Regions from separate parts of the Homo sapiens genome. Here region 1 is linked to region 2. Evidence: promoter capture Hi-C in human tissues and cell types (Jung and others, 2019). All regions are on one chromosome and are shown on one strand. Each heading gives the region's core, a stretch centred on a gene start or on the middle of the fragment in contact. The rest is flanking DNA. Distances are from core to core; before and after follow the strand shown. Region 1 overlaps QRICH1 (glutamine rich 1). Region 2 holds the start of CCDC71 (coiled-coil domain containing 71).

Evidence for each region. The method cuts DNA at HindIII sites, captures the fragments that hold promoters and counts their contacts. A contact is called where the count stands out against the background at its distance.
Region 1: a fragment that was not itself captured here is called in contact with the fragment with the promoter of CCDC71 in region 2 in 2 of the 25 tissues and cell types used here (aorta and lymphoblastoid cells).

Annotation. Positions count from the first base shown.
Region 1 is chr3:49,076,487-49,080,278 of GRCh38, reverse strand. QRICH1 (glutamine rich 1) reads left to right here. Exons shown (of 10, transcript NM_198880.3): 2 at 3,241-3,570. The coding sequence starts at 3,262. Among named protein-coding and RNA genes, the nearest start is that of QRICH1, 16 kb to the left of the region's middle. The HindIII fragment of the contact is 7,025 bases long and covers 1-3,792 here.
Region 2 is chr3:49,164,279-49,167,958 of GRCh38, reverse strand. CCDC71 (coiled-coil domain containing 71) reads left to right here and starts at 1,628. Exons shown (of 2, transcript NM_022903.4): 1 at 1,628-1,692. RefSeq lists enhancers at 1,347-1,466, 1,487-1,556 and silencers at 1,707-1,786, 1,807-1,866. The HindIII fragment of the contact is 16,226 bases long and covers 1-3,680 here.

The DNA of each region.
Region 1 (3,792 bases), core at 902-3,401, 88 kb after region 2:
GCAACTGACAGTTGAAGAAAATACATTTCAGGAAATGTAAATTCCAGCTGACCTCTGCTGCTCTTTTATAATGGAGATGAAAAACTGAAATTATGTACCAGCATGGTAGAGGACCTGTTAATGGCTGCTCATATAATCTCTCCTTTGTCCCCTTTTGAGCAGAAGGGTATATGTGATTAGATATTAGAGTTTCATAACTTTCTAATGTTACCGGATCTCTATTATGAAAGATGCCTTTTTTTTTTTTTTTGAGATAGAGTCTCAGTCTGGCGCCCAGGCTGGAGCGCAGTGGCACGATCTCGGCTCACCGCAACCTCTGCCTCCTGGGCTCAAGCAATTCTCCTGCCTCGGCCTCCCGAGTAGCTGGTATTACAGGTGCCTGACACCATGCCTGGCTAATTTTTGTATTTTTAGTAGAGACAGGGTTTCGCCTTGTTGGCCAGGCTGGTCTCAAACTCCTGACCTCAGGTGATCTGCCTGCCTTTGCCTCCCAAAGTGCTGGGATTACAGGCGTGAGCCACCGCACTGGGCTGAAAGATGCCTTCTTAAGGAAATCGCTACTGTGCTATTAACAAAGGGGAACTTTGATACATTCTGTGCAAGTGTGGCAAATGAGTGCTCTCGGATCACCTAAGCCAAGTAGCCTTCTCTGAATCTGTAGTTAGGCAAAGTGTGCTTGGCCTGATGCTCTCTTTATGTGTGATGTGGACATCGTTGACCACTTAATTATTATTATTTTATTATAGTATTTTATTATAATTGTTATAATATTTAATTATTATAATTATAATATTTTTATATTTATGTAAAAATTATATTTATATTACATAATTGTAATTATTATAATATTTTATTATAATTATTTATTTTATTTTATTTATTTATTTCTTTTAACAGATGAAAGTCTCTCTAGGTTTCCCAGCCCAAAGACCTGGTCTCAAGCAATCCTCCACCTCAGCCTCCTGAGTAGCTGAGACTACATGTGTGCACCACTGTGACCAGCTGATAACTTAATTTTTTTGTTTGTTTGTTTGTTTGTTTTTTTTAGACAGAGTTACGCTCTGTCGCCTAGGCTGGAGTGCATTCGAGTGATCTCGGGTCACTGCAGCCTCGATCTCTGGGCTCAAGCAATCCTTCTACCTTAGCCTCCGTAGTAGCTGGGACTACAGGTGCATACCACCATACCCAGTTAATTTTTATATATTTTTTGTAGAGATGGGGTTTCTCCATGTTGCCTGGGCTGAGGTGGAAGGATTGCTTGAGTCCGTGGAGCTATGGATATTACAGAAACCAATTGGGTGGCTCACGTCTATAATCCCAGCACTTTGGGAGGCCGAGGCGGGAGGGTCACCTGAAGTCAGGAGTTTGAGACCAGCCAGGCCAACATGGCAAAACCCAGTCTCTACTAAAAATACATAAATTAGCTGGGCATGGTGGTGGGCACCTGTAGTCCCAGCTACTCGGGAGGCTGAGGCAGGAAAATCACTTGAACCTGGGAGGCTGCAGTGAGCCGAGATCGTGCCACTGCACTCCAGCCTGGGCGACAGAGGGAGACTCCAACTCAAAAAAAAAAAAAAAAAAAAAGGACAGGTGTGGTGGCTCACGCCTGTAATCTCAGCACTTTGGGAGGCTGAGGCAGGCGGATCACGAGGTCAGGAGATCGAGACCATCCTGGCTAAGATGGGGAAACCTCGTCTCTACTAAAAATACAAAAAAATTAGCTGGGCGTGGTGGTGGGCGCCTGTAGTCCCAGCTACTCGGGAGGCTGAGGCAGGAGAATGGTGTGAACCCAGGAGGTGGAGCTTGCAGTGAGCCAAGATCAAGCCACTGCACTCCAGCCTGGGCAACAGAATGAGACTCCATCTCAAAAAAAAAAAAAAAAAAAAAAAAAAGGAACCATAATTCTTCGTTTTCCACATTGAATTTCAAATGCAGCAGGTATATATGAAGCAACTACCATGGGTGAGCTATTCGGAGAGAACCAGGACATAGTCTTGTCTACCAAGAACTTAGAGCCTAGGTAGAAGAAAGGAGACGTTTACCCACATATTTTATATCTGTAACATAAGGTAGAGCATCTGGTCAGTCTAGTGTATCTATCCTGATTGCTCAAGGGAACAAATCACCTTTCCAGACATTCAGAATTGTCTGATAATCCTTTTTGGCAAAAACGTTCGCTTGTTTTCTGTTACTCTTTCATCCTGCTGCTACTTTTGTTCTGGAGGTCGGGCTGTTGAAGGGAGGATGGTACAAAGGTAGCAGCGACAGGGGTCAGCAGTCCACAGATTGCACACTTTTCCCTCAGATGATGAGAGTTAACTGTACGTCTGCAGGTTAATTCTTAAGGTAATTAAATACCTGATGAAAACTTGTAGAATTTATTTCTGAATTTTAGTAGTGACCTGGATATTTAAAGCACTATTTACCTTTTTTCCAGAATTATTTTAATAGTATTAGTTACATTTCTGTAGTGCTATCTATGTGCTAGATGATTTTCTAAATGCCTTATTTAATCCTTATGTCAACTGTGAGGTAAGTACTATTGTGTCCCCATTTACTCACAAGAAAACTAAGGTTAATTGACTTTTCTAGAGTTACATAATAAAGGAGACATAAAGTTGGGATTTGAACCCAGGCAGCCTGGCTCCAGAGTCCATGCTTTTAACCAGTAGTAAGCTGTGTTGCAAAAGAATGTGAGCACCACATGGCAAAATAGGATTTTTGGTTTTTCTGATGGGAGATGAAGAACATATCCTCTGCCTCTTGTGTCTTGCCACAACTAGGTGGCATACCTATCTCTGCTGTAGGAAATACTTGGAAATAAAACATATCCATAGGAATCCCTGCCCCTAGCTTCCTCCTTGCTTGGTGTCCTCTCTGTGATGGTCACAGAGCAGTTTTGCATGTGACATTTACTGTCCAGTGCTTGGCTCTGCAGAGAAGATGGGATTGACCTAGTGCTGGGTAGGAAGTGTGTTTTCAGCCTGTTTCATCCAGTATTGTGAAGCATGTGTTTGTTTTTTTGTTTTCAGTGTGATAGTTTTATTTAAGAAATGTTAATAGAAATAATTTTCAAACATCCATTAATTGAAAAAATAAGGTGGTATAATAAAACTTTATTTTTTGATTCTATATGTATACAGCTGCCCTGAATATATTCCACTCTTGTGCAAGGGTAATTGCTTCTGGGCATTTCCTGCTAAAAACAGTAACATAATTTTGACTTCTGTTTATTTCTAGGAACCCTAAGGACTCTGCAATATGAATAATTCCCTAGAGAACACCATCTCCTTTGAAGAGTACATCCGAGTAAAGGCACGGTCTGTCCCGCAACACAGGATGAAGGAATTTCTGGACTCACTGGCCTCTAAGGGGCCAGAAGCCCTTCAGGAGTTCCAGCAGACAGCCACCACTACCATGGTGTACCAACAGGGTGGGAACTGCATATACACAGACAGCACTGAAGTGGCTGGGTCTTTGCTTGAACTTGCCTGTCCAGTCACCACCAGTGTTCAGCCACAAACCCAGCAAGAACAGCAGATCCAGGTTCAGCAGCCGCAGCAGGTTCAGGTATATGGGAAATGCTGAGGTGCAGCCTGTTTAATGTACTTTATTTGTTGTCAGTGTTTTAGTTAGTGGGCTCATCACATCTATGTGGATGTTATAGGTTATTTAACACTAAGATTTTCAAAGTTAATGTGGACTAAAAGTTTTTTCTTTCTTCTCCTTTTTCTTTAAGCTTTTTTTTTTTTTTAAACAAACCCCAGTGTCAAGGACTGACTTTGAATAGAT
Region 2 (3,680 bases), core at 379-2,878:
GGTTTCTGTTTGCACAGCCATGGCCCACCTGCACACAGGAGGCCAACACTGCCGGCTTTGGAGAAGCTGCAGAAGGTAACTGGTTGAATCGGTCCTGAATAAGTGAACAGTCAATCTTCAACCATGGACGGCCAGAGACTGGACTCACCCACAGCTGGGGACTGGGGGCACCAAGGTGGGGCTTCCTGACTGCACCCCATGAGATCCTGGCCCCTGGGACCCTACTCTTGCTTTCTCTCCACCAGGAAAAAAAGGCTAGAAGCACTGACCCCAGAGGAACAGGAGATTTTGCAGTTCCTGCTAGATACCTTGGCTATACTTAAAAGCAGCGAGGACCTCACCATTAGTGCTGAGGCCCTGGGAAGCTAAGAGGCACCAGATGAGGCCTATGGCACTGCTGGGTGGACTAGGCACTTGTCTTTAGGAGTGCCTGGACCCCTCTGTATAAGCAGGGAAAATACAGAGCAACCAGAGGATCCTGGTTGGAAAAAGGGCAGGAAAAAGGGCTAGTACCCAGTCCCTAAATGAAGCATCCCGCCACCCTCCTGTGATTGCCAATAGGCTTCCACCTGACCCCAACTACCAAATAAGGCACCACTGCAAGGGTCAGAGTCCAAGAGTTGTGGCAATATTTCTGCCTCCTGGCTCAGGCTCTGACCCTAGTGCAAATGCCCCCACTACCTCATCCATGAAACCAGGGCTCCCAGGATGGTTCCCAACCTGGACTTGCAAACCTCTGACTAATGGGACCTTTGGTCAGAGCTGTGGAGACCACTCTGACCTCTCACTGAAGTCACAGACCCCTAGGGTTGATTTTGACCTGTGTCCTATAACCACCACCCCGTACTAGCCCAAGAGCATGGATAAAAAGACTGAGGTCCCAGACTCCTAGGCAAAAGGAAAGGGGTTCTGGGCAGTGTTAAGACTGGAAGCAGGACTTCCTTCCATTGAGGGGCTGAGGCTGGGCCAGTGACTATACCTGCCCCCACCTGCCTGAGCAAGTATACTCAGGCCCACAGTGGTATACTGGAGCCCCCAGACTCCATGTGCGCTTGGGCTTGCGTGCACCACTTGTGATCACGTGCACACCAGCCTTTCATGCCATGTGCCACAGGCCCTATTCTCAGGAAGAGAGGAAGGCCTGCTGTCCTCGGAGAAGATACCCTTACTGCAAAACAAAGGAGATCACCTGAGACTCCCTGTCAGGAGGCACTCCTCTTTCACCCTCTGGTCAGGTGTCTGGGACTGAAGTGGGCATTGTCAGTGGCTAAAGATAGATCAGAGGGTGGAAGATGGCCTGAACCTTGTCAGGAGCCCCTCCCAGATGTCAATGCACCACTAGCTCCCCTCAGAAAAGGTGTCAGATGACCCCTAATCCAGTCTTGGCCGGGCTCTAGTGAGTCCTTGCCTGGGGCCGCGTCAGAGGGCACCTCTGTTCTTCAGACTTCTGCACAGGGCCGAACGGGTTTGGAGCAGTCACCGCGGCCACCACCTCCAGGCAGTCCTCCTTGGTACCCAATCTGCTCCGCCCCCAGACTTTGTGGGGAAATGGGGTCTCAGGGGTCAAGGGTCGGTAGGGCGGGCTGGGTCCCGGAAGCGGAAGCGCAGTGCACTTCCGGCGCGCAGCGGGCGGCCATGTTGGAGCAGCGGAGGCGGCGCAGAGGCGCGTCTTGGGTCCCCGCGGCGGCGCCGGTAGGTTGGAGCCGCGGGCCTAGCCGCGCCGCGGAGGGGCGGCCCGCGAGGCGGCAGGGCGGACGGGCAAGCGGCCAACTCTTCCCGGACCCGCGTCCTCCGCCGGCCTGGCCGAGACCCCCCACCCCACCCCCACCCCGCGCCCAGCGACCCCACCCTGGGGCTGTGCGGTCCCGGTAGGGCTAGCACCGTTCACCCTGTACATTTCGCTGCCTCAGTGACCCCCGCCTCACGGCTTGGGCCCTAAGGACGTGCATTCCCAGCCTGAGGGCCCCGATCTGCCCCCTCCCCCGGTCTGCCTGTGTGGCGCCTCTCTCACGCCCTATCTTCCGTCAACTTCTCCTGCCTTCCCCGGGGGCACGTGTGAAGGGAAGTCGGAGGCCGGGCAGGAGCCTCTGTTTCCGAAGCTTCTCGAAAGCCCAGAAAACCCCTCCCAAGAGCCCAGCCTAACCTGGGTGGAAGAGCCCCCAGGTCACCCCAAATATTTGCGCTGGGGCGCGTGTGAGGGTGGGAAATAGGTCCCTCTCTCTTCTACAGTTCACAGCTCTGGGAACTACATCCCTTCAAAAAACATTAATAAAGAACTAAAGTCATGTGCAAGGATTGTGCTTGGAGAACGGTCTCTGGGGAGGGGAAGTGCCCAAGACACCTGAGGATCCAAGAATGTTTCCAAACAAAGAGCCCTAGGGCATTTCCTCCAGGGTATTCTGAAGACTTCATCTGCTGCATTAGAGCGGTGGGAAGAAACTACACAGACGGGCCTCATGGCCCGAGGGACCTGCCTGATCCTGGCTGATCTTTTAATGCTCTGGTGCAGCTGGGGAGCTGCCTCTTGCTTCTGGGAACCCTCAGTGTTGGGTTGGGTATTAGATGTTAGTTATGATTGATGTCCACAGCTTCTTTAAAGAAGTCTGGGAGTAGTTAGGTGTTCTCAGTCACCTCCATCTGGGCTGTACTGAGGTCTGTGGCCCTCCAAGTCTTAGGTAGGACAGTGCATACCGCTAATGTCCCCTTGACTCACCATCCTACTTGCAGCCTTTGGCTCCCATTGTCCTTAAACTTTGGGATCTTGGTCTGGCTTCCTGGTCCCTGGTCTGCCTGGTTGCCTAGAGAGATGTCATTGGCACCTGCTACTCATCAGCTTTTTAGTTTCTGTTGAAGAAAAGTCCGACTCTTGATTAGGTCTCCATGCCTCTGGAGCTAGAAAATGGGTTGCTGAGTACCCTGTCTAGAGACTGAAAACAGAACTTCTGGTGGGCAGGGAGATTCCCCCACCCCACTCCAGCTCCACACATGAACAGCAGCAGCTGGAGAAACAGATGGGCATGGACAGTGGGTGTAAGTCTGGGCCCTTTGGCTAACATTCAGGGTTCTTTGTTGCTCTATCCTCGCCTGTTTTTTCACCTAGATCCCAGATCCCACACCAAGTATGCCTTAACCCTTTCTCACTTTGGAGCCATTGCATTAGCTATTCCCCTTTTTGTTCCATTTCCATCTAATCATTTTTCATTCATCACTCATATCCTAGCTAGGTGTTGTCTCTCCCAGGAATCCTTTCCTGACCCATTGGCAAACTGAGCTGAATGCCAGCATTCACTCCCAAGAATCTTAACAGTGTCTTTTTCTGGCCTTCTAACCTAGGTTCCTTGAGGACAGGGATATTGCCTGTATTCCCAGAGCTGAGTAATTCTAGGTTTCTGGCTTCAGAAAATACAGAGTTGAATTAAAATGTACCAGGCTCAAATCTTTTCAGGGACCCGGCAGCAGGTTGGATGGCTCTGAGGTATTTCTGAGCATGTATCTTGAAGAAACTCCCTGATCCTTAGCCTCTCCTCCCACCCCAGCATGGTAGAGGGTCAGGAGACCAGGGTTTTACACCAGGAAGTGTCTCACTCTGGCCAGATTCCTCAGTGTCATGGAGATTGGGGCACTGATTGACTTGTCTATGTGTTCTGGCCCCTTGTCTTAGTGCCATTCTTATTGACTCT